6 separate regions of the Homo sapiens genome follow, and regions 2, 3, 4, 5 and 6 are each linked to region 1. Evidence: promoter capture Hi-C in 16 types of primary human blood cells and fetal thymus (Javierre and others, 2016). All regions are on one chromosome and are shown on one strand. Each heading gives the region's core, a stretch centred on a gene start or on the middle of the fragment in contact. The rest is flanking DNA. Distances are from core to core; before and after follow the strand shown.

The links. Contacts are between HindIII fragments. The CHiCAGO score rates a contact against its expected background, and 5 or more counts as called.
Region 2: a fragment that was not itself captured here is called in contact with the fragment with the promoter of NKX1-2 in region 1 in 1 of 17 cell types (activated CD4 T cells); the score reaches 5.4 in activated CD4 T cells.
Region 3: a fragment that was not itself captured here is called in contact with the fragment with the promoter of NKX1-2 in region 1 in 3 of 17 cell types (neutrophils, monocytes and naive B cells); the score reaches 7.4 in neutrophils.
Region 4: a fragment that was not itself captured here is called in contact with the fragment with the promoter of NKX1-2 in region 1 in 1 of 17 cell types (naive B cells); the score reaches 5.2 in naive B cells.
Region 5: a contact is called between a fragment that was not itself captured here and the fragment with the promoter of NKX1-2 in region 1, in 2 of 17 cell types (activated CD4 T cells and non-activated CD4 T cells). The highest score is 5.7, in activated CD4 T cells.
Region 6: a contact is called between a fragment that was not itself captured here and the fragment with the promoter of NKX1-2 in region 1, in 2 of 17 cell types (total B cells and naive B cells). The highest score is 6.9, in total B cells.

Annotation. Positions count from the first base shown.
Region 1 is chr10:124,447,362-124,451,948 of GRCh38, forward strand. NKX1-2 (NK1 homeobox 2) reads right to left here and starts at 2,674. Exons shown (of 2, transcript NM_001146340.3): 1 at 2,369-2,674; 2 at 1-786. The coding sequence starts at 2,582. The coding sequence ends at 68. RefSeq lists enhancers at 1-226, 3,543-4,098, 4,099-4,587. The HindIII fragment of the contact is 2,053 bases long and covers 1,776-3,828 here.
Region 2 is chr10:124,942,124-124,946,710 of GRCh38, forward strand. It overlaps ZRANB1 (zinc finger RANBP2-type containing 1), which reads left to right. Exons shown (of 9, transcript NM_017580.3): 1 at 1-1,184. The coding sequence starts at 371. Among named protein-coding and RNA genes, the nearest start is that of ZRANB1, 2.3 kb to the left of the region's middle. The HindIII fragment of the contact is 446 bases long and covers 1,748-2,193 here.
Region 3 is chr10:123,975,802-123,980,388 of GRCh38, forward strand. No RefSeq gene overlaps it. Among named protein-coding and RNA genes, the nearest start is that of CPXM2, 86 kb to the left of the region's middle. The HindIII fragment of the contact is 3,808 bases long and covers 730-4,537 here.
Region 4 is chr10:123,995,929-124,000,515 of GRCh38, forward strand. No RefSeq gene overlaps it. Among named protein-coding and RNA genes, the nearest start is that of CHST15, 95 kb to the right of the region's middle. The HindIII fragment of the contact is 1,996 bases long and covers 1,460-3,455 here.
Region 5 is chr10:124,822,750-124,827,336 of GRCh38, forward strand. ABRAXAS2 (abraxas 2, BRISC complex subunit) reads left to right here. Exons shown (of 9, transcript NM_032182.4): 5 at 3,846-4,036. Among named protein-coding and RNA genes, the nearest start is that of ABRAXAS2, 23 kb to the left of the region's middle. The HindIII fragment of the contact is 2,968 bases long and covers 482-3,449 here.
Region 6 is chr10:124,758,674-124,763,260 of GRCh38, forward strand. It overlaps EEF1AKMT2 (EEF1A lysine methyltransferase 2), which reads right to left. Exons shown (of 7, transcript NM_212554.4): 6 at 3,627-3,885; 7 at 1-1,830. The coding sequence ends at 1,830. Among named protein-coding and RNA genes, the nearest start is that of FAM53B, 17 kb to the left of the region's middle. The HindIII fragment of the contact is 3,819 bases long and covers 223-4,041 here.

The DNA of each region.
Region 1 (4,587 bases), core at 1,424-3,923:
GCCGAGGGCACACGACGATGCCAATCCCTCGTGAATCCCGCGAAAGAGGGGCCAGGGGGCTCCGGATTCATAGACGCGGGGCGTAGAAGGGGGTCAGGTAGGAAGGCCCAAGGAACGGCGCGAAAGGGCTCCCGGGGGCGGCAGCCGTCAGCGGGAAGGAGGCGGCGGACGGGAAGAGGACATTGGCCGCGGAGTAGGAGGGGAAAGTCTGGAAGTGCAGAGCGCCGGTGCCGGGAGGGCCAGGACTGCCCCCCGAGCCGCCGCCGCCGCCGCCCCCCGCCGCCCCTGGCTGGGGCGCGCCACCCCCCACCTGCGCCGCGCCGTCGGCACCCGGGTTCTGCTTCTTCCACTTGGTCCTGCGATTCTGGAACCAGATTTTGACCTGCGTCTCGGTGAGGCTGAGAGACAGCGCGAGGTTCAGGCGCTCGCACACTGACAGGTAGCGCGTGGCCCGGAACTTGTTCTCCAAGGCCACCAGCTGCTCGTAGGTGAAGGCGGTGCGCGCGCGCCGCGGCTTGGCGCAGTTGGGCTCCAGGCGCCGGCGCCTGGGACGCGGGGAGCCGGGGGATCCCGGGGGGGACCTCACAGGGCCGCCCCCGCCGTCCTCGCAGGGCTCCCCAGACGCCAATGCCCCGGCCGGGGCGTCAGGTGAGCGCGCTAGGCCCGGCAGCAAGCGCGCAGCCCGCTCCCGCAGCCGCGGCCTCCTCGGATCCTCCGCATCCTCCTCCTCTTCCGCCTCGGAACCCTCCAGGGGGGACGCCTGGCCGGCGCCTGGGCCCGCAGCATCTAGGGGAGAAGGGGTCGGTGAACAGAAGCCTCTCCAGGTCCCCAAACCTCGTCCTCGTCCTCCCTAGAGCAAGCAGCTGTCCCCCCAACCCAACTCTGGGTGCTGCTCCTGTCCCCACATCGCGCTCCCCTTAGGCCGGACTACACATCCTCGCCAGCGGGTTTAGGGGAATGGTGTCCTCTTGCCCTTTACAAATCTGCCATCAAGTAGGCGTCCAAGAAATGTACGCCAAATGAATGAATGACACCCCGCATTAAGAAAAAATAGTGACATTATTGGGTAACCATACTGGGGGGTAGGATCATTGTATTAAGACATCTAGATGTCAAACGCTTTTAGGGCTGTGCCTTCCCCAGACCCTAGAAGCCTATTTTGATCTAGGACTCCCAGCAATTAAAAAAGAAGTTATTAAGCTCTCTGCCCCACCCCACCCCCGCCCCCGCTTTAAAGTGAAATTCCCTTTCCCATCTTCTCTCTCCCGCCGTGTTAATAGAGTTTCAGATTTGTGCGGGGCCGGATCGATAGATGTCATCTATTAAAGGTAAGTTTTAATCGAACAATATTAGGATCAGACAGGGAAAGGGGGTTTGAAGTCGGTACCTGCAAGCTGCGGGCAGGAGATATGCAGGCGCCAGTAATAGAATATCGATCACGAGGGTGGGGGAAGGGAGGGCGGCCCCTCGGAGAGAAGATCCGAACAATTACCAGGCCGCCTGCCTGGGCCCAAGTGCGGCCGCCAGAGGCGCCCCGGGCCCCAGGCAATCACCGCCAAACTTGGGGAGGGGAGCAGGGGGCTGCGCGGCATCCAGCCTCCCCCGATGACCTGAGCCTCTGACCCTCCAGGGAGCCGCCTTTCCCTGTCTGATCCCAGCAGGACTCCTGCTGTCTTCCGTCCTTCCTTCCAGCCACAAACTTTCCTAACCCCTTCATCAGGTGTCCGCCAGCGTTGGGAGTAATTCAGAAAGGGTTTCGAGAAGAAAGTACCGAAAGCTTCCCAACACTCCATCCGAGCCCCGCCCCCAGCCCAGTCCCAGTTAACAGTTGAGTCTGGGGAGCTTGAGCGCCTGGGGCAGCCCAGCCCCGCAGGCGTCTCCGGGTGGCACCTGACCTCGCTACTCACGAAGACCCCCGGCGCAAGCCTTAGCGTCAGCTCCCCCATCCATAAAATGGAGGTGATGTTAATGATGCTGTCCATCTCTCAGGTTCCGAAGTTTTCATCACCTTTATCCCAGCCCTTAGCCCAGGTCCTAGCACGTGGCAAGCGCATTAAATGCCCGATAAATGAGTAAGCCTGGCAAGACAGGCGCCAGGTAAGTTTCCACCGCGAGCATCAGAACTGTGGTGCGGGTGAGCTTGGCGGGTGAGCAGGGATGCGGCAAATCCCTGCCCTGTAATGCGGGGAGCCTCCTCTCTGCCTCTATCCAAGTCCGAGGCGGGGGCTACACTTCGCACCCGGTCCCGTGCGCCTTCTCTCTGAGGAAGACGCTGTTAAGGGCCACTCACCGGGCCCGGCTGTTCCCCCATACACTCCGCATTGTTGGGGCTGAGGCCTCCTGGGGCCGGGGCCGCCTTGCATCTTACCAGGGGTCTCCAGCTGTCGGACAGGGTCCCTGGAGCTGGCATCTTTCCCCGCTTCGACCTCCGCCAAACTTTTCCTGGCTTCCCGGGGAGCCGGGCGCACGGCAGGGAGCGCTGCGCGGGTGAATTTCTGTGGGTCCAGGATGTCCAGGACAGAGAAAGAAATCTTGTGGTGGGAGGGAGCCGCCTTGGCCCCGCCGTCCTGCCATGCCAGCATGCCCGTCGCCCACGGGCCGGCGGTCGGCGGCGCGGGGTTGGGGATGGCGCCGCTCGGGCTTGCCTTCGGCTGTGGCTTGGCGGTAGCTTTCCAGCCAGGAGCCGGGTCCGCGCTGCCAAGTGAAGCTGGGGAGGGGGGCGGGGAGGCGGGGCGGGGAGAGCGCCGCGGGGGGCTGCGCGCCGATTGGCACCGGCGCAGCCCGGGCCAGCCTCGGGACTATCAGGCGCTGTGCCGCGGCCGCTTGCCTGGGCTCGGGGAAGCCTCCGCGCGCCCGGTGCGCGCGACCGCGGGGACAGTGTTGTCGTCTCCGCGCGCCTCCGCCCAACCCTCTGGGACTCTCCGAGGGCGCGAGGGAGGCTTCCATCCCGGGGATCCCTCACCCCGACACACACACCTCTGTGACTTGAGTTTGTTCCCTTTCTCCGGTGCACCCGCCTTAGACTTGGGGATGCAACTGAGGCCAGGACTGCTTACTCCCAGGCAATGCTCAGCGCATCTCCTTCCCCGCCAGTGAATTACTGTAATAGCTTCAGACCCGGTTACCTCGGAGGTAAAATCCCTCACGTTCTCACAGTTTAGCGTTCACAAAGCCCTGAGGCTTGCACGATCTCTTTTGATTATTTGAGCATCCCTGTGAGATGGGCGTCACGTGGCACAGACCACTGTCCCCGTTTTAAAGATGAGGAAATCGAGGTTCAAAGGTAAGAAAAGATTTCCCCAGGGTCACTGTGAGTTGGTGACAGAGTCTGGGTTTGGACCTCGGTCTTCTACTGGACCAGTCAGTGCTTTTTTAGTACATCCTGCTGTCTCAGAAACGGAGGGAGAAAATCCCGGACTCTCAGTCTTTTGCTTCCACTCCAAAGCCAAGCCAGAGGCCAGCAAGAGGTTTGGAGAGGTGGTGAGCCCCCACCGGGATTCCAGCCGCTTTGGAAACCTTGGTGGCTTCAGGCACAGAGCCAAGTGAGATGGCTGAGGGTGTCTGCCCTGGTTTGCTGTGACCCGGAGCACAGCCCTCAATGGACAAACGTCAGGCCTTCTCCAGAGTCACAAATTCGATCATTTGCAACAGAAATTGGATCTGAGAATTAGGTTGCATCTCTGACCCCCATTCCCTCTCAGCCCCAGAAGCAGAAGATTCAGAAATGCCTGTCTGGTTTGAATTTAAGGTCCGAGAAGAGAGACAGTTGAAATGGCCCTCATCTGCCCCACCAAGTCCCCTGGGAAAGTGATCACCAGTGGTCGGAGAAGCTTCCACTGGCCACACCAATCCTGAATTTCTTCTTTTGTCTCTTGGAAAGCACACAGCAGTCTGTGAGCACTAAGCATTTGTTTCAGGCAAATTCTGAGGCTTCTCCTAGTGTTTGGCCCAGAACCACCTCTGACTCTGCCGTTCCTTTCTTCTCCGCCCCATAGGGTTTCCAAACAATGACTTGGCAATTAATATTGTCTGAGCAGGTAAGGAGTAGGAAGAGGAGGAGAAACCTTCTCATTAAAGTGCTGGGGGCTGCTAATCCCATCTGTTATTGAAGAGGCATCCTTAGAAGCCAGCTCCTTGTAGCTTTTCTCATTCAAACCTTGCTGCCCCTCCCAGAGGTGGTCACTGTATTCCCTGCGGACTTTAAAGCCTGCGGAAATCAAGCCAGCTCCAGTCCTAAAGTGAAGACGGATTGTGCTTTTAAAGCTCAGGAAAGGAAGTGCCCTTCCCAAGTCCACTGGACCACCTCCCATCGAAGGGAATGTGAAAATCCCAAAGAAAAGATGGCCCTGAAACTAAAAAGTGGCGCCCGACAACCTGGACTGCAAATCACAGAGCCTTCCTGAAATACAGATGGGGTACTTTGTTTTCTGTTTTGATAATGCTTTCTCACCCAGTTCTCGATTTTTTTTTCTAATCTTCCTTTTTGTTTCTCCCCCTTCACCCTTTTGATCCTAGCCGCCCCTTCTACATTTTCCCACCATGTTTACTTTTTTTTTTTTTGAGACAGAGTCTCTCTGTCACCCAGGC
Region 2 (4,587 bases), core at 721-3,220, 490 kb after region 1:
TGATGGCCTCCCTGAAATTAAACATTTCTATTAGTGGCTTCCCGTTAATCTCATCCTTCTTAGATCAAACCTCGTTATATCTCCTGCCTATCTCTTTTGCATTCCAAAGTTCAGTTTTATTAAATCCCAGGGTCTAAGATTTTTTCTTTGAGAATTTATCTCCAGTGTTTCTATGGAAATTAAAAAAGAAAATTAGGATAATTCAATGTCGAAATGTTGCATGCATCTTTTGAGAAATTTATATTTTGTAGGTTGAAGGACTTGCTTTTTGGGCAGCGTATTTTTGGAGGTGGAATGTAGTTATTTTAATAACCATGTCCTAATTATTTATAGCTTCCTGCCTGACACAGCTCACTTCAAGAAGTGCACAATGTCAGAACGTGGAATTAAGTGGGCTTGTGAATATTGTACGTATGAAAACTGGCCATCTGCAATCAAGTGTACTATGTGTCGTGCCCAAAGACCTAGTGGAACAATTATTACAGAAGATCCATTTAAAAGTGGTTCAAGTGATGTTGGTAGAGATTGGGATCCTTCCAGCACCGAAGGAGGAAGTAGTCCTTTGATATGTCCAGACTCTAGTGCAAGACCAAGGGTGAAATCTTCGTATAGCATGGAAAATGCAAATAAGTGGTCATGCCACATGTGTACATATTTGAACTGGCCAAGAGCAATCAGATGTACCCAGTGCTTATCCCAACGTAGGACCAGGAGTCCTACAGAATCTCCTCAGTCCTCAGGATCTGGCTCAAGACCAGTTGCTTTTTCTGTTGATCCTTGTGAGGAATACAATGATAGAAATAAACTGAACACTAGGACACAGCACTGGACTTGCTCTGTTTGCACATATGAAAACTGGGCCAAGGCTAAAAGATGTGTTGTTTGTGATCATCCCAGACCTAATAACATTGAAGCAATAGAATTGGCAGAGACTGAAGAGGCTTCTTCAATAATAAATGAGCAAGACAGAGCTCGATGGAGGGGAAGTTGCAGTAGTGGTAATAGCCAAAGGAGATCACCTCCTGCTACGAAGCGGGACTCTGAAGTGAAAATGGATTTTCAGAGGATTGAATTGGCTGGTGCTGTGGGAAGCAAGGAGGAACTTGAAGTAGACTTTAAAAAACTAAAGCAAATTAAAAACAGGATGAAAAAGACTGATTGGCTCTTCCTCAATGCTTGTGTGGGTAAGTTTCTGTATTCTGCATTTTTTGCGTGGGATGGGAAAAGGTAGTAAAAATGATATGAAAAGAGCTGGGTGCGCTGACACACGTTTGTGGTCTTAGCCACTTGCTTGAAACCAGGAGTTTGAGGCTGTAGTATGCCATGATCGGTCTGTGAATAGCACTTGCACTCCAGCTTGGGTAACATAGTGAGACTGTGTCTCCACGCACATGCAAAAATGTGAGTGTGTGTGTGTGTGTGTATATATATATGCGCAAAGTCACTAGCATTTGATTCATTCAGCACGATAGCTGTACTTTCAAGTATGCATACATAAAAATTTGTGTATTTGTGATCTTGTCGTAACTTTGTACTAAATTGCCCACAATTAATTGTGTTCATGTCTCTCCATTACTGGGGGCAGTGGAAACGTTTAAGTTAAAGCAAAGTTTTTACACATCAGCAGTAAAATATATACCTGGACTTTAAAACTGCTACTCTGTTTATTGTAACAAGATGTAACTGAGGAACACCAGCTGCTGTTTCCAAGTATTTGTAAACAGTGTGAGCATCTTGTGATGATAGAAGCTTTAGTCAGATGTTAAAAATACCACAAAAATGTGTGACTCCAAGAAGTTGAACAAACATATTGACCTTGAAAATACTGGTGTTAATTTAACATGAATGTCATGTAGTAAATGTTTGCAAACTTTATGGAACTGATTACATGTAGCCAGCTGATTCCATACTTCAAGTTATGGTTCATATGTATTGTGACATTTTCCTCAGGAAATGCTGTTAAAGGACAGAGACATAGGAGAGCAGAGTTTTTCTTCAGTTCTTGACCTTGTGAGTTAATTGTGATGTAATTCACAAAAGCAGTGACTTGAGTCTTCAGTATTTTTTTTTTGAGTAGATTAGATGTTTGATTTTTATTAAATTATTTGGATGGGCTGCTTGCTTTGACATTTGGTCTTATGAGGGAAATTTTGAATGATTACTAAGTTTAAACTTTGTGTGGAACAATAGCTAAGCTTTAACTATACCTTAGCTGTATGTTTTCCCTCAGTACCAATTTCTTTTATTTATCCCTCTGGGTACAGCCCAAGAATATGGAAAGTTTAGGTGTATGAACCTGTGAGTCCTAGGAATTGATTTCCAAGAAATCGTGAGTTTTAAAATTAAATTATATATATCATTCCCCCCCCCCCCCCGCCCCAAGATGGGATCTCACTCTGTCACCCAGGCTAGAGGGCAGTGATGCAATCATGGCTCACTGCAGCCTCAACCTCCTGGGTTCAAGTGACCTGCCATCTCAGCCTCCCCAGTAGCTGGGACTCCCCATTAGCATGTACCACTATGCCCTGCTATTGTTTTAAATTATTATTTGTAAAGATGGGGGTCTACCTATGTTGCCCAGGATGGTCTTGAACTCCTGGGCTCAAGCGATTCTCCCACCTCAGCCTCCTAAAGTGTTGGGATTATAGGCATAATTTGCTGTGCCCAGCTGAAATCCTGAGTTTTCAATTTTAGCTTTGTTCTGGCAAAAAAGAATATCCCAGCAGATGAATCCTTCTGACCTCCAGACTTAGTAGGCACTTAGCAAGTCTTAGTTCTAGTTTCCTCCCATCCTGAGGATGAGGGGATGAAAACATACCGGGCTATCTTCTGTCTGTGTTGTCCCATTTTATTCCTCTGATTTTTCTGCTCCAAATTGAGGGGCAACATACAGTATGATTGTCAGTTAAAAAAATTTAAACAGGAGATACAAAAGGGTTTTGTTATTAGTTTCCTTAGAGATCAAATTGATTTAACATAAAAATTCACCGTTTTGCAAGTGAACAACTCATTTGGCATTTAGTGCATTCACATTGTGTAACCACTACCTCTGTGTTGTTCCAGAACATTTTCATCATCCCAAAAGGAAACTATGTACCCATTAAGCAGTTACTGCCCCCTACCCCTACCCGCTAACCCTTGATAACTGCCAGTCTGCTTTTGGTGTCTGTGGATTTACCTATTCTGGATATTCATATAAATGGAATCTTTACATATCTGTGAGCTTTTATGTTGGGTGTGATTGTCTTTTAATTGCTTGTATGCCTTTGGAACAGTCTTAAAATCATTTTTTTTTTTTTTTTTTTTTTTTTCAGGGAGTAGTGTACTATGAATACTTGGACTACAAGGTGGTGTTATAGTACATGTAGGTTTATAGATGAAAATGAACTAGACTTCATTGTGACGGTTCTTAACCTCACAGTGAAGGTCACTAAACCTCACTAAAGGTCATAGAATCCTTTAGGAATCAGGGCTTCATTTCAACCCCCGGTTGCTTCAAGTCAGTGGATCTCAGGATAAGAACACCTGATTTGAAATATTTTCTTTCCTTGAAACACACAAGTTAGATGAATCAACATGTTTGTCTTTATGACATTATTTCTTCTTGGTCCTGCCTTTTTCTACATATCCTTACTACTTTTGACTAGACGACTAGCCATCCTTGTACCTCTTTGCATTTTATTTATTTTTTTGAGACAGGGTCGCGAGGCTGGAGTGCAGTGCTGCAATCATGGCTCACTGCAGCCTTGACTTCCTAAGCTCAAGCCATCCGCCCACCTCAGCCTCCTGGGTAGCTGGGACTACAGGCGCATACCACCACGCCTGGCAAATTTTTGTATTTTTTTTGGAGAGACGGGGTTTTACCTTGTTACCCAGGCTGGCATCTTATTCCTGTGCTCAAGTGATCCACCCACCTCAGCCTCCCAGAGTGCCAGGATTACAGGGGTAAGCCACTGGGTCCGGCCCATCTCTTTGCATTTTAATCACTGAGTTCAATTTAAAAGTGGAACAAGGCCAGGCACAGTGGCTCAGGTCTGTTAATCCCAGCACTTTGGGAGATTGAGTTGGGCGGGTCACCTGAGGTCGGGAGTTCGAGACCAGCCTGACCAACATGAAGAAACCCCGTCTCTACTAAAAATACAAAATTAGCCGGGCATGGTGGCACATGCCTGTAGTCCCAGCTACCTGGGAGGCTGAGGCAGGAGAATCGCTTGAACCTGGGAGGTGGAGGTTGCAGTGAGCCAAGACTGCACCATTGCACTGCAGCCTGGGCAACAAGAGCAAAACCCTGTCTCAAAAAAAAAAAAAAAAAGAAAAGAAAAGTGGAACAAAAACTTCTACCAATAGGACCAGTATTGGATTTGACGTTGTTTTATTTATAAAATGATTTGTCATTAAGTTGCTGTTTCTACCTGCAAAGTTTCTAGATTCTTAGGGGCAAGGGTTGATTGTATTTGGTTCTTGGTAATGTGGACTATGTCTTTCCTATTGGCAAATAATTTTTACTATTAACTCTACAATGTCATTCTGAACTGTTATACGTAAGGTTATAATTATAGGCCTGTTTCTATGGGATAGCCATATTCT
Region 3 (4,587 bases), core at 1,384-3,883, 470 kb before region 1:
GACTGGAAAAATATGACAATATGTAAATAGCAGTTGCCTCTGAGTACTGAACTTTGAATTTTTTTTATTTTTATATTAACTCAAAAATTTTTATAATTATCTTTATTTTTTATCTTTATGTTTATATAAAGATAATTATGACTATTATAATAGATATTATTTTATATTATCTTTATAATTAGACTCAACATTTTTAAAAAAATCTTCTTCACACAGTATTTGACTGTGTTCCTAAATCTTGTGGTTAATGACAATATCTGGCTTTAGAGTTACTTCATTCATATTTTTTATTTTAATCAATGTAAGACCTTTGGTTCAACATCCTAGAAGCATAGTTATTGCAGGCCACTTTCTCCTAAAAATATATTAAAATGCTGATAGAATATGTATTATTTAGGGTAGGGTGGCTTGCGGTAACAAAGAGACCCCAAAATATATAATGATTCAAACACAATAGAAAGGGGCTTCTGTTTCTTAGAGAGCTTGCAGAGGACCAATCTTCTTAAAGAGAACAAGAACGCTGATGGCATACCAAAAAACATTTGTCTGAAGGCATTGGAGAGCTGTGGAGGCAACCAGGCCTAAGGGGCCAAGATTCCTGAAAGGGAAAACCCATGGAAAGATGAGCCATATTCTGAAGCTGCTCTTCCCTCATGAACTTGGGAATGCTGGGCAGAAGGCCAGGCCTGGGCTACTAGAAAGGGCAAGAAAACTAGCAAAGATGTGGGAAGCTTACAGGTCTGGAAAGGGAAAATTAAATTCTTAGGGGTGGGGGATCCAGAATCCCACAAGATGGAGCAAATAACTGAGCCAAACTCTCAGTCAGTTTTTAACAGAAGATATTGGGAAATTTCTGGAGCTACACAAAATGGAAACTAGGTAGGCAAATACAGAGCCTCTGAAAAGCTAAGTGAAGTTTTCAATAGTCTTACTGTGCTGAGGACACTAGGACTAGAATTTAGAACTTATGGGGCAAGGGCCATGATAAACACCCCAGCCACTCAATGGAAAACCCTAAAACCATGCTCTAAGAATAAACATGATCCAGGAGTAGGTAGAGATTCAATACTGCTACTGAGCCCTGAGTTAACTCAGTCCCTGGTTGAATTAAGCTGACTAACCCATAGTATATGATATGGTTTGGCTGTGTCTCCACTCAAATCTCCTCTTGAATTGTAGCTCCCACAATTCCCACATATCGTGGGAGGGACCTGATGGGAGGTAACTGAATCATGGGGATGGGTCTTTCCCATGCTGTTCTTGTGATAGTGAATAAGTCTCATGAGATCTGATGGTTTTATAAATGGGACTCCTGCACAAGCTCTTTTTTTGACTGCCTCCATGTAAGATGTGACTTTTCTCCTCATTTGCCTTCTGCCACGATCGTGAGGCCTCCCCAGCCATGTGGAATTGTGAGTCAATTAAACCTCTTTCCTTTATAAATTACCCAGTCTTGGGTATGTCTTTATTAGCAGCGCAAGAACAGGCTAATACAGTATATCTACCTATCAGAGGAAAGGATGAACAATGTCCAGCATTCAATAAAAAATGTAGGCATACCAAGAGACAAGACTAAATGGTCAAATATCAGGGGGAATATTTAGATATGGGAAATCAACCCACAGGTGATTCAGATATTGGACTTAGCTGATAAGGGCTTAAGTGAACTGTTATTAATATGGTAAAGACAATATAGAAAAAGATAGATGGATGAAAATAGAATTTCATCAGACAATTGAAAACTATGAAAGGAACTAAATGAAAATTTTAAGAACTAAAAATTGCAAAAACTAAAGAATTCAGTAGGTGGATTTATTATTAATGTAATCTGTTATTATTAATAATCTATTATGAATAGATTAGAAACAGCAAAAAAGATTAGTGAATTAGGAAATACAGCAATCTAAAAAATTAAGATTGAAACACAGAAGAAAAGAAGATAGAAAATACAAAAGAGAACATAAAGGACATAGACAGCAGTGTAAAGGTCTAACATTAGTGTAATTGCAGCCTCAGATAGAGAGGAAAGAGATAATGGGATAAGGAAATATTTGAAGAACTAATACCTGACAATTTTCCAAAACTGAGGAAAGACATTAGTCCACAAATTAAAAATCTTTACATACTCTAAGCAAAGTATATATAAAATAAATTTTACTTTAGTATAGCTGAAAAACAAAGATAAAAAAGGAAATTGTGAACACAGCAGGAGAGGAACGACAGATTACCTTCAATGGAGCAACAGTAAGACTGAAGATTGGCTTTTCAGAAATGATATGTTTAAAGAGCTGGAAGGTAGTAAAACTAACCTGAAATTCTATATTCAATGAAAGTGTAACAGCTCAATAGGTTAATCTTGCCCACTGCCCACACAGATACAGCCAATGTATCAAGATGGGGAATTGCAATAGAGAAAGAGTTCAATATATGTAGAGCCAGCTAAACACGGACTGTAGTTTTACTACTATTCAAATTAGCCTCTCCAAAAATTGGAGGCTAGGGTTTTGTAAAGATAGTTTGGTGAGCAGGGGGATAGGGAATGAGTGCTGCTGATGAGTTAGTGATGCAATCATAGTGGTGTGGTAAGTGGTCCTCATGTGCTGAGTTCACTTCTGGGTGGGAGCCAGAGAGGAGTTGCTGATCCAGTTGGAGTCATCTAGTCATCAGAAATGCAAAAGTCTGAAAAGACATCTTAAAAGGGCAATCTGAGGGTCTACAATAGTGATGCTCTTTACAGGAGTCATTGAAGAAGTTGCAAATCTTGTGACTTCCAGAATAATGGCTGGTAATCATTTAACTATGCCTGCATCTTAGCAGAATTCAGGTCCCTCTAATCTTCCTAACCTGGTTGCCTTTCATTAGTTTTGCAAAGGTGGCTTAGTTTTGGGAAGAGCTATTATGTTTTAGTCTCCCAAAGTTAGTCTGGCCCATGCTCAGGAATGGCCAAGGGCAGTTTGGAGGTTAAAAGCAAGATGGAGTTGATTAGATCTTTCACTATCATAATTTTCTCACTGTTCTAATTTTTGCAAAGGCAATTTCCAAAACATCTTTCAAAAATGAAGGGAAAATATTATTTAAAGACACCAAAACAGAAAAACCCAGTGTAAAATAAATGCCAATAGAAATTCTTCAGACAAAGGAAAAGAACCCAGATTTAAAAACTGAAATGCATGAAGAAATTGAAAGCTACAGAAAGAGTATATATGTAAATATAAATAAATATTAACCATACGAAACATCAAAAATGATGTCTAGTGGGATTTAAAATATATATTGACAAGAGTAAAGGAAAAGAATGGGAGCAATAAAGTATTCTAAGGTCTCAACATTGTGTAAAAGAAATAAAAGTCCTAAATTATATTAGACAATATTAAATCAAGGATACATGTTGCAACATTTACAGTAGTTACTAAAATACTTAAGTACCAAGTTTATATAGGGAAAATAGAATAATAAAACTATTCATCCAAAAGAAAGTAAAAAAAAAACCCAAGACATGGAAAAGCAACATAAAATGGGTACAACACAAAAAGTAAAATGGTAACTATAAATTCTAATATATTAATAATTATGTCAAATATAAATTGACTAAATACTTCAAGTAAGACCAAAATAGTCAGATCTGATTTTATTAACTCAAGTATATACTGGTTACAGGAGACCCACCTCAAAAGCAAAAAAGGATGAAAGTCAAAGTTGAAAAAAGCTATGCCAGATAAACACTAAACAAAAGAAAGCTGGTATCATTATTCTAATATCAGAAAAGTAGACTGGAAGGTAAGAAGCATTGCTAGACATAAAGCAGTTGCTTTGCAATGATAAAAGGATCAATCCACTCATAAAGCAAAAACAGACAGAACTAAAAAAGAAAAAGAGACAAATTCACAATAATATTCAGAGGCACAAACACACTCCTCTCAATATATGATAGAAATGCAAACAGAAAATCAGTAATAGCACAATTAGCCTGACCTAATTAACACTGTATCCTACAATGACAGAATATGCATTCTTTTTAAGTGCACACATAACATTTAATAAAATCAGTCATATGCTGGGTCATAAAACAATTCTCAACAGATTTCAAGGGATTTGAATCACTCTTGACAACTGTGAAATTAACCCTCTGACCACTGTGAAATTAATCTAGAAATTAATAACAAAAAGTTAATTAGGAAATCTCCTTTTCTGCTATGCTAGCAATCTCTGCCTCCAAATATATGTCAATGTCCTTTTAATTCATAGGAAAACTTGAAGGAAGGAAAAAAGACACTTCTTGAACAGAAATAAAATAGAAACTACAGCCAGCGGGTAATCCATGAGCCAACACACCAGGAGCCCAGGGAAACATCAAATGTGAACACATGTCCTAAGGGCTCACAGCTGGGTTTTGATGCTGATTAGGAGAAACGGAATATGACTTTGACCTGCATGAGGCAGAGGTGAACTAAGAACTCTGAGTAGAGTTGAGACCCTGGAAGACTGCCCCCTTCTTATAAGAGGAACTAGAAAAACTCAAGCAAAATCTCCAGAACCAAGCTTGACTGCACAGAAAAAGCAAAGGGGAAAAATATCCCACTGGAAATG
Region 4 (4,587 bases), core at 1,208-3,707, 450 kb before region 1:
CTGTCCCTGGGAGTCTGGGCACACAGTGGGTCGCAGGGGAGGAGGAGGCCCTGCTGTCCTGGCATTGCTGTTGCTTCCACAACCTGAAGATGGCACCCAACCCTGACCTCAGCCCTCCCTACCTGCAGCAGCTCGGTCTGGCCTCCCAGCCCCAGACCATGTCTGAAGTCATTGAGTCCACACGGTTCCACCGCCTCCTTGGAAACCCTTTTCAGAGACTCAGAGTTGAGAAGCTGAAGCTGGGACTCGAGCTCTGGGGACCAGCAGACCTGAGATCAAGGACCAGCTCTTCTCCTTACTAGCTGAGGGGACTGAGCCCCAATTCTCCCACCTTTATAATGGCGGAACCAGAATAAAGATAAAACCTCCTCCTGGGGTTGCAGTGAGGATCTAATGAGACACGAGGAGACGCCCCAGCACAGGGCGTGGCACTCACCCTGTGTTCAATCATAGCTGGCCCTGTTATGACCGTTTTCATCCCCTTTACCATGGATGGCCTCTCATCTGGCCATTGCAGGTGACAGGTGTGTCCATGTCCCCTAGACATCCTGGGCGTGCTCAGCTCTCCTGGCTTTCAGCCGTTTGGCAAAACACCCTCCAGCTGATCTTGTATTTACCACAAGTCAATTGTGTTTGCCCCCGAGCCTTTTTCATGCCAGCTGTTCTTGATATTATGAAGGCACAGGTTAATTAAATATCATATAAGCTAGCAAGTTTTCAAACTAGTTGGGTTTGTTTGTTTGTTTTCAGAGGTGGGGTCTTGCTCTGTCCCCCAGGCTGGAGTGCAGTGGCATGATCACAGCTCACTGCTGCTTCAAATTTTGGTGCTTAAGTGATCCTCCCACCTCGGCCTCCCAAGTAGCTGGGACCACAGGTGTGTGCCACCACATTCTGCTAATTTTTATTTATTTATTTATTTATTTACTTACTTACTTACTTACCTACTTTGTAGAGACAGGGTCTCACCATCTTGCCCAGGCTGGTCTCAAACTCCTGGGGTCAAGGGATCCTCCTGCCTCGGCCTCCTAAAATGCTGGGATTAAAGGTGTGAGCCACCATGCCCAGCCTCAAACTGTTTAAAGATTCCTTTATACTCTTAAAAATCATTGAAGATCCCAAACAGCTTTTGTTTCAGTGGCTTGCATTGATTGATATTGACTATCTTCAAAATTAAAGATGAGAGACTTTCAAAGCACAGAGACACACAAGCACGCATTCCGTCGGCTGTCAGAGGCCAGGGCTGGGGGCTGGGGGCTCTGAAAATCTTTATTTGTACCTTCTGGAGAAAATGAGAGCATCAAGGGCAAACAACATCTCAGTTTGACCGTGAAAAGAATTTGGACTTTGGATTCCCTGAAAGGGTCGCAAGTGGTCCCTGGGCCACTCTCGGAGAGCCACTGAGGGAAGCTGATGAAATATTAATGCAGAAAGGGAGCTGCTCCCTGAATGCTAGGCTGGAAGCTTTGGAAAGTCCCAGCACAGATGAGGGTAATGATTTGGGGAAAATAATCACACAAATAATGAAGGACTCTGCCTCGAGATTGCCTTGCAAGCGCCTTCCAGTTCTCATGTCCCTTTAGAAACACTGAAACCAGAAATCAGTGCTGATTCACTGCTCTGTGGTTTCTGCCACAGAGATGACCCAGAGCTCCAATCAGTGGGCTCATGCTCAGAGAAAAGGTTTTGGCTCCATACCAAAAGGCAGACAAATAGATGTGCTGTACTTCACATATTTGAAGTAAAAATAAAATGTTTAAGAAATGTCTATGTGGTTAAGTAGGACTTCCCCACCCATCTAACTTGCCCAGCTAACGCTGCAATTACGGATGTTGCAAGAACGTTGACTCGACCCAGCCTTCCCCTGCTACGGTAAATGTCCCTCACCCCTCCACCCTCAGGCTGGACACCAGCTCCAAGTCTAATCCTTGTCTTTGACCATTTGGGGCTTGACTTTGCCTTTGACCTTGCCTCCATTGCCTGCCACATCCTTCAGTTAGTGACAAGCACAAGATGGGTCAGATTTGGTGGGTTCCAACACTGGGTCCAGTACTAAGTGTGTGACCTTGGAGCAGTCACCTAACCTCCCTGAGCCCCAGCTTCCTTTTCTGTAAAATGGGAAGTTACACATAAGCATACATATACCCCAGCTCTGTGGGTGCCGTCAGTAGTGATGTCACCATCCCATTGGTACAGTGCCTTTGAGATGGCCCTTCAGCCGTGCTTCCTACTCCCAGCCCCTGTGATCACTCACTTGGACCATAGAAGCCTCAGCCTTAGTCCTTCCATTTCCAGGCACTTCTACCTGCTCCAAATTAATGACCTAAATCCCTGCGCTAACCAATAATTCCTCTGCTCAGAAAATGTCAGTGTGGGAAGCTCAATACACCACTAGTTCAACCAAAGGCATTTACCCTGAGACCCAAACCCTCTTTGACCTTGTGCCCACTTACCTGGGTGGCTTCACCTCCTACTGCTACAACAATCGTGCCTGAGGACCATTGCTGAGGTGACCTGCCCCCACCTCCAGGGTCCAGATGCCATGTGGAGGGTATTACATGCGTGAACCCTTATCGCCATAAGGGCCTGAGTCTGAGTGCATACCCATTCTGCAGATAAGAAAACAGAGGCTCAGTAGCATCAAACCCTCTGCCTAAGGTCACACAGAGGACAATGGCAGAGCCAGGATTGTAGTCCAGGTCTCCCTGACTCCAAAGCCCAGAATGTTCGTATACTCCTTTCCGGAGGCACTGAGACCTTCCCTGCTCTTTTGGCCTTCCCTGCTCCCTGCCCCTGCTCACCCCAGCCCCTCCTCTCGGCATGCCTGCCCACCTTTCTAGATCCTGCCAGTCTTTAGGGCTCAGCTTAACGCCACCTCTTTCCTGATGCCATCTGGGTCACAGCCCCCATGCACCCTGCAGACCTCTCCTCTGCTGGAGGTTCTGACATTTGCACAAGGCCTGCATTCTTCTAGGCTCTCCCTGTTCCTTCCTTAGGAAAGTGAGCCTGGCCCTTACGGTGAGGTCCTCTTTCCCTGCTTCACACTCCAGAGCGGCAGGCCCCAACTTTTTGGCACCAGGGACCAGTTACATGGAAGACAGTTTTTCCACAGTTTGGTGGGGGGGATGGTTTGGGATGATTCAAGCTCATTACATGTATTGTGCACTTCATTTCTATTATTACTATACTGAAATACGTAATGAAATAATTCTACAACTCACCATCATGTAGAATCAGTGGGAGCCCTGAATTTGTTTTCCTGCAACTAGGTGGTCCCATCTGGGGGTGATGGGAGACAGCAACAGATCTTAGATTCTCGTAAGGAATGTGCCACCTAGATCCCTCACATGCACAGTTCACAATAGGGTTGGAGCTGCTATGAGAATCCAACGTTACCACTAGGAGGTGGAGCTCAGGTGGTAATGTGAGCGATGGGGAGCAGCTGTAAATAGAGATGAAGCTTTGCTTCTCACCTCCCGCTGTGTAGCCCAGGACTGCTACTGGCCCATGCCCGAGGGGTGGGGGATTGCCTGCTCTACAGCATCATCACACATGCCTTTGCCCCATCTAAGTTTGTTGAGTGAGTATTATGTGCAGTCACTGATTCAGGCTCTGAGGCTGCAGCCATGAACAGAGTTCCCACCTCAAGGAGCGGAGGTCCCTGATGGGCAGAGGGCTGCTGAAGCAGCAGCAGACACACAGATGGTCCAGTCTCAGGTGACAGCTGTGAGCAAATCAAGCAGGGAGGCTGGCCATGCAGGAGAGGTATTATTTTGTGTAAGTGGTCAGGGAAGGGACCGTAGTGAGGCGAAGGCACTGGCCTGGCCAGGGTCAGGGAAGGGACCGTAGTGAGGCGAAGGTGCCGGCCTGGCCAGGGTCAGGGAAGGGACCGTAGTGAGGCGAAGGTGCCAGCCTGGCCAGGGTCAGGGAAGGGACCGTAGTGAGGCGAAGGTGCCAGCCTGGCCAGGGTCAGGGAAGGGACCGTAGTGAGGCGAAGGCACTGGCCTGGCCAGGGTCAGGGAAGGGACCGTAGTGAGGCGAAGGTGCCGGCCTGGCCAGGGTCAGGGAAGGGACCGTAGTGAGGCAAAGGTGCTGGTCTGGCCAGGGCCAGCGAAGGGACCGTAGTGAGGCGAAGGTGCCAGCCTGGCCAGGGTCAGGGAAGGGTGTGCCAGGCAGGGCACCCCAGGGTCACAGGCCAGTACAGGGAAGGGCTTGGTGTGCTGAGCATGGCGGTGAGGTCAGCATAGCCAGGGCTGAGGTGAGTGCGGGCAGCTGAGGTCTCAGAGGTCAGCAGGGCAGGGTAGAACCCAGGGAGGGCCTCGAGGGCCATGAGCAGGTCTTGGCCTTTTATCCTAGGTGTGTTGGGGGGTTGGGGAGGGTTTCAAGGAAGAGAGTGACATGGTTTGAAGGACTGCAGGGGAAAAGTGACAGTGGAGGTGCCAGGAGGGCCTTGGCCCCGGCTCTCACCACCATGCGGGAGTGGTGCGGGGGTGGGGGGTGTTGAAGCATAGGTTTCACTGTTATTCGGGTAAAGTGAGACCAACAGCTCAGAAGATTGTCTTTAGCCGGGCTCAGTGGCTCATGCCTATA
Region 5 (4,587 bases), core at 716-3,215, 370 kb after region 1:
TCATTGCGCTCCAGCCTGGGCGACAGAGCAAGACTCCAACTCAAAAAAAAAAAAAAAAAGACTCTATTATGTAGTCTTTTCACTAGTAGGTAGGGACACATTTGTAAATTAATTTTGGCATTTTTAAGGAGGTTTGCTGTTTGAGACACAGAAGGCCACTCGTTGGTTGCTATCTAGAGTTGACTGCTTTTTCTGCGGCCAAGAGTCTCAAAACAGTTAAAAGTTGGTCTATAGTTTTGATTTTATAGAATTTTGTGCTAAAACAAATGTTCGTGTTCTCCTTTGCAATTAGTGATATGAGTTTGTTGTTTCATTTTACTTGGAAAATATGTTTCATTTCCTTGATATTTGTTGAGAGTGGGAGCTATATATTTCCTTTGGTACCTTATATAAAGTATGAACTCTGTAAGGATTTTTTTCAAAAATCTGAATTTCCAGCACAAAGACAGAGATGATATATAACACTTAGATTTCAAAAAAAAGCTTTATAATTCTTGTTTGGATTTTTTCCCCTAGGATAAGTACAAAATTTTATCATTACCTCAAAAGGGTGGTTATATGACCCACAAGGTACATGTAAAATGTTAGGCTTAAGATAGAGGCTAATGTTTTTGATAAGAAAATCTGCCAGTAGGTACAGTTTGGTCACAGGCTGAATTACTGTTCTGGCAGAATCCATACGTGCTTACAATGTTTGCACAAGCCTCAGGTTTTAGGCTAAGGCCAAACAAAGCAAGTAAGGAGGATTCGTGCTTTCCGGAAGCTCTGAAATTGATAACAGTAACTGAAACAGCCATCCTTGTATCATCATAAGGCCAAAAGAACACAAGCTAAAGACAATAAACGTGCCCATATTGGGATGAAAATGTAAGCAAATGCCTAGCATAGAGAATAGTCTGTGGTCTGTGGATAGAATAGTCTGTGTGAAAAATTGGCCGAGAAACATAAGCAGAGACAAGGTTTTAGGGAAAGATATCCATAATTCTTCATCATGTCCCAAATATAGCTATGCAAAATGTGCTTTTCAACATCAGTGACTTAGTTTCTCAGTAGCTTTGCAACTAGTTTGTTCGTTAGCTCTAAAAGGTAGAATCAAAGATATCACCAATACACATTAATTTGGCATCTCATCCTTCATTGATGAGAATGACAGGAGAATCTGTTTTGTTTTGTTTTGTTTTGTTTTTTGAGACAGAGTCTTGCTCTGTTAGCCACCCTGGTACAATGGCATGATCACAGCTCACTGTAGCCTGGCCCTCCTGGGCTCAAGTGATCCCCCTGCCTCAGCCTCCTGGGTAGCTAGGACCACAGGCGTGTGCTTTTTAAATTTTTTGTAGAGATGGGGTCTTGCTATCTGGCTCAGGCCGGGCTCAAACTCCTGGGCTCAAGTGATCCTCCTGCCTTGGCCTCCCAAAGTGCTTGGATTACAGTAGTGAGTCACCACACCCAGCCAGGAGAATCTATTTAGAACTGTTGGCATCTATCAAATCAATAAGCTGTTATATGCCAGGCACTGTGGCTCACGCCTGTAATGCCAGCACTTTGGGAGGCCGAGGCTGGCAGATCACTGGAGGTCAGCAGTTCGAGACCAGCCTGGCCAACATGGTAAAATCCCATCTTTACTAAAAATGCAGCTGGTTGTGGCAATACACTCCTGTAATCCCAGCTACTTAGGAGGCTGAGGCATGAGAATTGCTTGAACCTAGGAGGTGGAGGTTGCTTGAGCCAAGATCGCGCCACTGCTCTCCAGCCTGGGCCACAGAGCAAGACTCCATCTCAAAAACCAAAAAAAAAAAAAAACAAAACAAAGGCAGCTAGGAAAAAAAATGAAATAAAATAGTTCGAATTGGCATAACTGAAAAGCACTATTAGTCATCCAATAGCCACCTTGCAAGATTCTGCTAGTCAATGAGTATTTCATGAAAACAGCCAGTGTGCTGAGCACTGTTCAGGTCTTTGCAGGAAGGCAGGGGAAGTGCAGGGCATGCCTGAGGTCTGCTGAGTAGGTAATTCCAACATTCCAAGTAGGAGTTGGGTACAGAGTATTGAATCTTAGAATGAAATGTGCTATGTTCACCTGCATCAATAGCTCTATCTAATTGTATCCAAGTTTTCTTGAAAGGAAAACTACTTTTACCTTTTTTATGGCCACCATCATGTCTAGTGTAGAATGTGAAAGTTAGTGTTGCCCAGTGGAAACAGGCAGGCATCTTGATTCCACATCTTGGCTGTCACTCATGAGCTCTGTAACTTCGGACAAAACATCTCTTCTATCAGATTATATACTGAGGCCAGGCACAGTGGCTCAATGCCTGTAATCCCAGCACTTTAGGAGGCTGAGGCGGGTGGATCACTTGAGGTCAGGAGTTCAAGACCCACCTAGCCAACATGGTGAAACCTCATCTCTACTAAAAATAAATTAGCCAGGCGCGGTGGCACATGCCTGTAATACCAGCTGCTCGGGAGGCTGAAGCAGGGGAATCGCTTGAACCCAGGAGGTGGAGGTTGCTGTGAGCCGAGATCATGCCACTGCACTCTAGCCTGAGTGACAAAGCAAGACTCTGTCTCAAAAAAAAAAAAAAAAAAAAAATTATACCCTGAGAGAAAGGCTTGGGTTTTCTTTTTATTTAAGGGATATCAGAATTAATTGCTTTAATCTATGGGAAGATATGTTTTATGTTCAGTAGTACTCCTTAAGTCAGGAACTATTGCTTATTTCTTTGTTCTCTGTAGTTCTTTGCATATGATATGAACTCAATGGAGAAAACATTATTCACTTAGAGTGGTGTAGTAATTAGTGAAAATATTTGTGACAATGCTAGCCTCAGCAAAAGTTGGCTTACTTTCTACATGAAAATGTCAAAACAATCTCAATTTACTATTAATTTTAATTTTAATATGACACTATTAGATTTAAACTACCTTTGCTTCTTAAAACAAGATTTTAACTCAGAGTTGGTTTCAAAGAAGGAAGCTGTATGAAGATTGATCTTCTAATAAAGAATTAAATGTTTTGAAAACAGATGTTTTTAAATTTCAGTATGCAAAAGAAAAATTCAGAAACTTACTTAAATTCAGATTCCTGGCTCTATCTTGAGAGGTTCTGATTCTGCAGATTTGGGTGGGGTCCAGGAATCTGCACTTTAGGGATGGGGTCCAGGAATCTGCACTTTAGCAGTCTTTCAGATATCTCTGAAGTCATCTGTCTTCCTGATGACCAACAAATCACATTATGAGAAGTATTCTTCCAGAGTGCATAACAGTTTCATTAGCCAGTTTAGTTATGCTATAGTTAGAGCTGAAAAAGCTAAACTTTTAAAATAGATTTGTTGAGGTAAAATTGACATATAACACATATCTCAAATGTATGCTCTTAGAAGTTTGATGTATGTGTAAACTTGTGAAACCATCACCATATTAAGATAACGAGCATCTCCTTCACCTACAAAAGCTTCCTCGTGCCTTTCCAGTCCTGCCTTCTCCCCTCATTCCTGTTAACCACTGATCTTCTTTATGTCACTAGATTAGTTTTCATTTTCTAGAATTTTGTACAAATAGAATCCTATAACCTATACTTCTTTTAGTGAGGAGGTGTCTAGCTTCTTTCACTCAGGATAGTTATTTTAGGACTCATTCATGTTCCTTTTTATCACTAAGTAGGATTCCAGCATATGCCTGAAGCACAGTCTGTTTATCCATGCTCCTGCTCATGGACGCTTGGGTTGTTCCAGGGTGGGGCTTTTGCACATAAAGCTACTATGAACATTTGTGCATGTGTGTTTGTATGGATACATTCAGAATTAAATTTGTAAGATTTCATGCAACTTTTCACACTTTTCTTTCAGAAAGTCATTGGGTGGTACAGATTCCGGCGCAATACGCAGCAGCAGATGTCCTACAGAGAGCAGGTTCTTCACAAGCAGCTCACCCGCATCCTCGGCGTGCCCGACCTCGTCTTTCTTCTCTTCAGCTTCATCTCCACTGCCAACAATTCCACTCACGCTTTAGAATATGTGCTCTTCAGACCAAATAGAAGGTAAAGCTTGCTTTTCCATCTGCCTCACATATAAGAAGGACGTTGGGACCAGGCGTGGTGGCTTACGCCTGTAATCCCAGCACTTTGGAAGGCTGAGGCGGATGGATCATGAGGTCAAGAGATTGAGACCATCCTGGCCAACATGGTGAAATTCAAAAATTAGCTGGGTGTGGTGGCACGTGGCTGTATTCCCAGCTACTCGGGAGGCTGAGGCAGAAGAATCGCTTGAACCTGGAGGCAGAGGTTGCAGTGAGCCAAGATTGTGCCACTGCACTCCTGCCTGGCAACAGAGCAAGAATCCATCTCAAAAAAAAAAAAAAAGGATGTTGGTACAAGTCACTGAGATTCGTGACTTCAAAAATGTGCATTATAGTGCATTTTTTTTTTTTTTTGAGACAGAGTCCAGCTCTGTCACTCAGGTTGGAGTGCAGTGGTGCAATCTCGGCTCACTGCAACCTCTGCTTCCCAGGTTCAAGCGATTCTCTTGCCTCAGCCTCTCGAGTAGCTGGGATTACAGGCACACACCACCATGCTGGCTAATTTTTTTGTAT
Region 6 (4,587 bases), core at 882-3,381, 310 kb after region 1:
AAATAGCATATACTTAACTCAAAATTCTAAGAGTACTTATCTATGTTATATTTGAAATCAAAGAATATTAATGTGAAAAAAAACAAAGACCCGATCTCAAAAACTATAAAAGTTTCTACAGTTTAAGATCTCCTGTCTTGGTAAAATCAACACAATCTTCTAAAAAATTTAAATTGCATATATTTTGAAGTAATTTCTCACTTTTTACATGTTGAAAATAAAAGCTTTTCAAAAAATGTTATTTTTGTTGACAGTCCACATACATGTCTTCAACTATCTTGTCTTAATGGTTGATCAATGTTGATCTAAATGAAAAACTCACTCCTCTGGCTACCCCTCCCCAAAAAGAAAAGGGACGTAATGTTAGACTTACTCAATACAGGAGTAACATTTGCCAAACAAAAAGTCACTTATGTAACCCAATAGGCCCACAAAGCTGAAAATCATCAAAAAATTATGCAAAAATTTGTATTTAGCTCCAATATTAAAATATTACCACAAATACAAAATGGTATTAAGTATGAATATGACTTATCTTTTCAAAAACATTAATAAACTGTTTCTCTTGCCAAATTAGCCCCTAACTAGAACATCTTTGTGCATGTATCGCTGAGGGCTTATATAACTTACACTACCCTTTCACAGAAGAATGACAAAATTCTTAATAGAGGCAAGTCTTTGAGTAGGGAGATGGGGAAAAGTAATGAAGGATGATATGAGACAGAGTTGGCTGACTGCTATTCTGATACTCCACAGATGAACACTAATAAAGTAACTACCCATCTTTTCTAACTGAACTTTATATGTAATCATCATGGGTCTCCAGCTGTACTGTAAATGCTACAAAGGCAAAGACTAAGCACCTGTGAGGCAGAATATGCTAGGAGAAGAGTATGTGTTTTAAAGTCAGACAGACCCAGATAAAAATCCTGGCTCCATCCTGTACTGTTGAACCTCATAAAAGTGACTTCACTTCTCTCAGCTTCATTTTCCTTATACGTAGAAACAAGAACAAGCAATACATACCTCAAGAAGACATTGAAAGGACTCAATTACTTAATAAGACAACTTAACATAGCGCTAGCAAATAATAACATTCCTTAGTTCTCTTTCCTTCTACTACCCTTACAGTGTGTAGAAGACCATAGCTGCAAAATGCAGGCTTGATAACTTGAGCAACTGATACATTTCTCTGATTTTGTTTAATTATATACATAAAGGTAAGAGGCCTTTTCACAGGTATTAATTAAGTTTAAAAATAACCGCCATCCAACACAAAATAGTATTTCTTGTTATATTTCATAAACAGTCTAACAAAACACTAACAAAGTTATTTTGCTTATTATTCTGATGCTGGAATAATTTGGTCAAATATTCATAAATAGTTATCAACTTTACCAAGGCACAAAAATCAAGAATACATGCTTTCTATAAACTCATTTACTACTTTAAAGTTTTTAACTGTTTAGCAGTTATAGGAAATTTTTTTAATCGAAAAGAAAACTATTTACATTTCAAATACAAAAGAAAATTAAAATTATTCTTGATTGATCTCTAAAACCCAACCACTTAGATGCTCATTATTATTATTTTCTTTCACCAATCCAGTATACTCTATTCAACATGTGCATCCTGTGTACTTACTAAGCATTTATTTGCACAAGGATTTTCTGTGTCAGGTTAACTTTGCTGTGTAGATTCTGTGTAGCTACCTGAATTCGTCCAAGAAAAAGTCTCACATTTTTTGGAAAACCAATGCTGCTACACTGTTTCCAGATCTGCCTCCAAAGCTGAACTTGGGTGTTGGTAGCTCTTCGAGAAGTTCAAATCCTGTCAGACAAAATTTAAATACTTTTATTAAGAATTGAGTCTCATACTTACATGTATTTATATGCATGCATTAACACTGTACCATTGAACCCTTTGTAAAACTATGATTCCAAACTCTAAATTGTGCTGAATTTCACTTCATGATTTTTCAATTCTACTATGTATGTACAGCATATGTATGCTCCTCCAAAATCACTTTGAATTTAACAAGGAAAAGACAAGACCAAAAACAATTTGGAAAAAACAGGCTTTCCATCCACCTCCCATTTCCTCCACTTCCTGTTTGTCATCTCTGCAAAGCTGTATCTCTGTTAGCCTCTATCACCTGGTTTGTAGGAAGCAGCTAGCATGTGTCGAGTTTTTTTGTTTGTTTGTTTGCTTTTTGAGACGGAGTCTCACTCCATCACCGAGGCTGGAGTGCAGTGGCACAAGCTCAGCTCACTGCAACCTCTGCCTCCAGAGTTCAAGCGATTCTCACTTCAGCCTCCCAAGTAGCTAGAATTACAGTTATGCACCACCACACCCGGCTAATTTTTCATATTTTAGTAGAGACAGGGTTTCGCCATGTTGGCCAGGCTGGTCTGGAACGCCTGATCTCAAGTGATCCACCCACCTCAGCCTCCCAAAGTGCTAGGATTACAGGCGTGAGCAACATCGCCTGGCCCTGTGTTGAGTTCTTGCTAAGCGCCAGGCATTATTTTGAGTGCTTCATATGTAGTAATCTAATTAATTCACACCACACATATTAAAGCACTTAATACAGAAAGGCAAAATAACTTGGAAATATAAATGAATTTGTAGAAGATGAAAAAGTTCTGGAGAAGGGTAGTGATGACAATTGCACAAAAAAATGTAAATGTACTTAATACCACATAAGTATACACTTAAAAATGGTTATAAAATGGTATGTTATGTGTATTTCAGCAGAATTAAAAACAGTAATTTATAACAAAGATGAAGACTCAAACTAAACGAACTAATAAAGGGCCTGGAAGACAAGGAACTAGTAACTTTCAAAGCATCACAGTATGGTTTAAAAAAAATTAACTTGGCGTCTAAAATCCTAGGTTCAAATCCTAGGTTCAAAAAATTAACTTGGAATCTAAAATCCTAGGTGAAGTCTCAGCTTCAGCACTTACTAAATGAGACAGGCTGTCAAGTTACCTCTACCATGATCCTGATTTCTATGCACTTTCTATCACTTAAGGCTAGGTATTCAAGACCAGCCGGGGCAACATGGCGAAACCCCATCTCTAAAAAAATACAAAAATAAGCCGTTGTGGTGGCCTGTGCCTGTGCGCCTGTAGTCCCAGCTACTTGGGAGGCTGAAGTGGGAGATGCCTGGATGATGGAGGCTGTGGTAAGCCGAGATTATCCCACTGCACTCCAGCCTGGGCAACAGAGCCAGACTCTGTCTCAAAATAAATTTTAAAATTAAAGTAAAATAAAACGCCAATCAAGGTTTTCCCTCATTGATGGACCTATTAGTTTTGGAATATTTTTTTCTTGAGGCAGGGGTGGGGTTCTGTATTTTTCTAAATTTTCATGCTTTGAGCTCAAATAACTCTTATAAACAGAAAAAAATGTTTTAAGTGATGTATACTGGCCGGGTGCAATGGCTCAGGCCTCTAATCCCAGCCTTAAGCTACTAACGCCAATGCGCCACCCCACGCCATCAAATTCACTGTGATTTTGTAAAGATCCAAATAAGGTAATGTAGTGTTTTCCTAAACTATGAAATAAAATGTTATATTATTTTGCTTTTAAAAAATAAATAAAGCTGGAAGGTCACTTACTAAAATGCCAACGAGGGCCTGGCATGGTATAATCCCAGCACTTTGGGAGGCCAGGTGGGAGAATCACTTGAGCCCAGGAGTTCCAGACCAGCCTGGACAACATGGCAAAACCTCGTCTCTGCTAAAAATACAAAAATTATCCAGGCATGATGATGTGTGCCTGTAGTTCCACCTACTCGGGAGGCTGAAGTGGAAAAGATCGCTTGAGCCCAGGAAGTCAAGGCTGCAGTGAGCCAAAATCCTGCCACTGTACTCCAACCTGGGCAACAGAGAGAGAGACAGACCGTTTCAAAAACAGAAATAAAAATTATATTATTGCATCAATTGGTCTATCATACTATTTCATTATACATCCTAATTCATGTTATCTAATTTCACCAAATCATAATAACCGAATATTATAATGCTTATTAAAAGCTTATCGTAAGAAAACTTTTCCAAATTATGACATTCCTTTTAATAAAATAATATGATGTTTCTTAATGCTGGAAAATGCAGGCATTGTCCTGGATACATGCATAGTTATACACCCATATTTGTTTTCAAAAATTTTACAAATGCTCTGGATATTTAATAATAAAAATTTTCTGTCTGTATAAATTTTCCAGGACTAACTTTTCAACTCCCTGAACTAACCCTACAGAATTGGAGTTATTATATTTCAAAATAGAATATACCAAAATATTAATAGTGGTTGTACTCCACTGATGGTAAACAAATTGTCTTAATTATTTTAATCTGTATGCTTATGTGTTGACGTTATTGATATTTTTCAATTATTTAGATAATAAATTTGAATTACTTTTTCTTTTAAAGGATAGCTCCCCAAACCTGAATAGATTCAGAAAGACTCCCTTAAATTGCTTCTGAAGTAAGATGGGTGGTTATTGTTTTCATTCATTCACTGTCATAAAGTCAAGTCCCTTCGACATCAAATTAGAACATGGGCAACTGGTTCCAG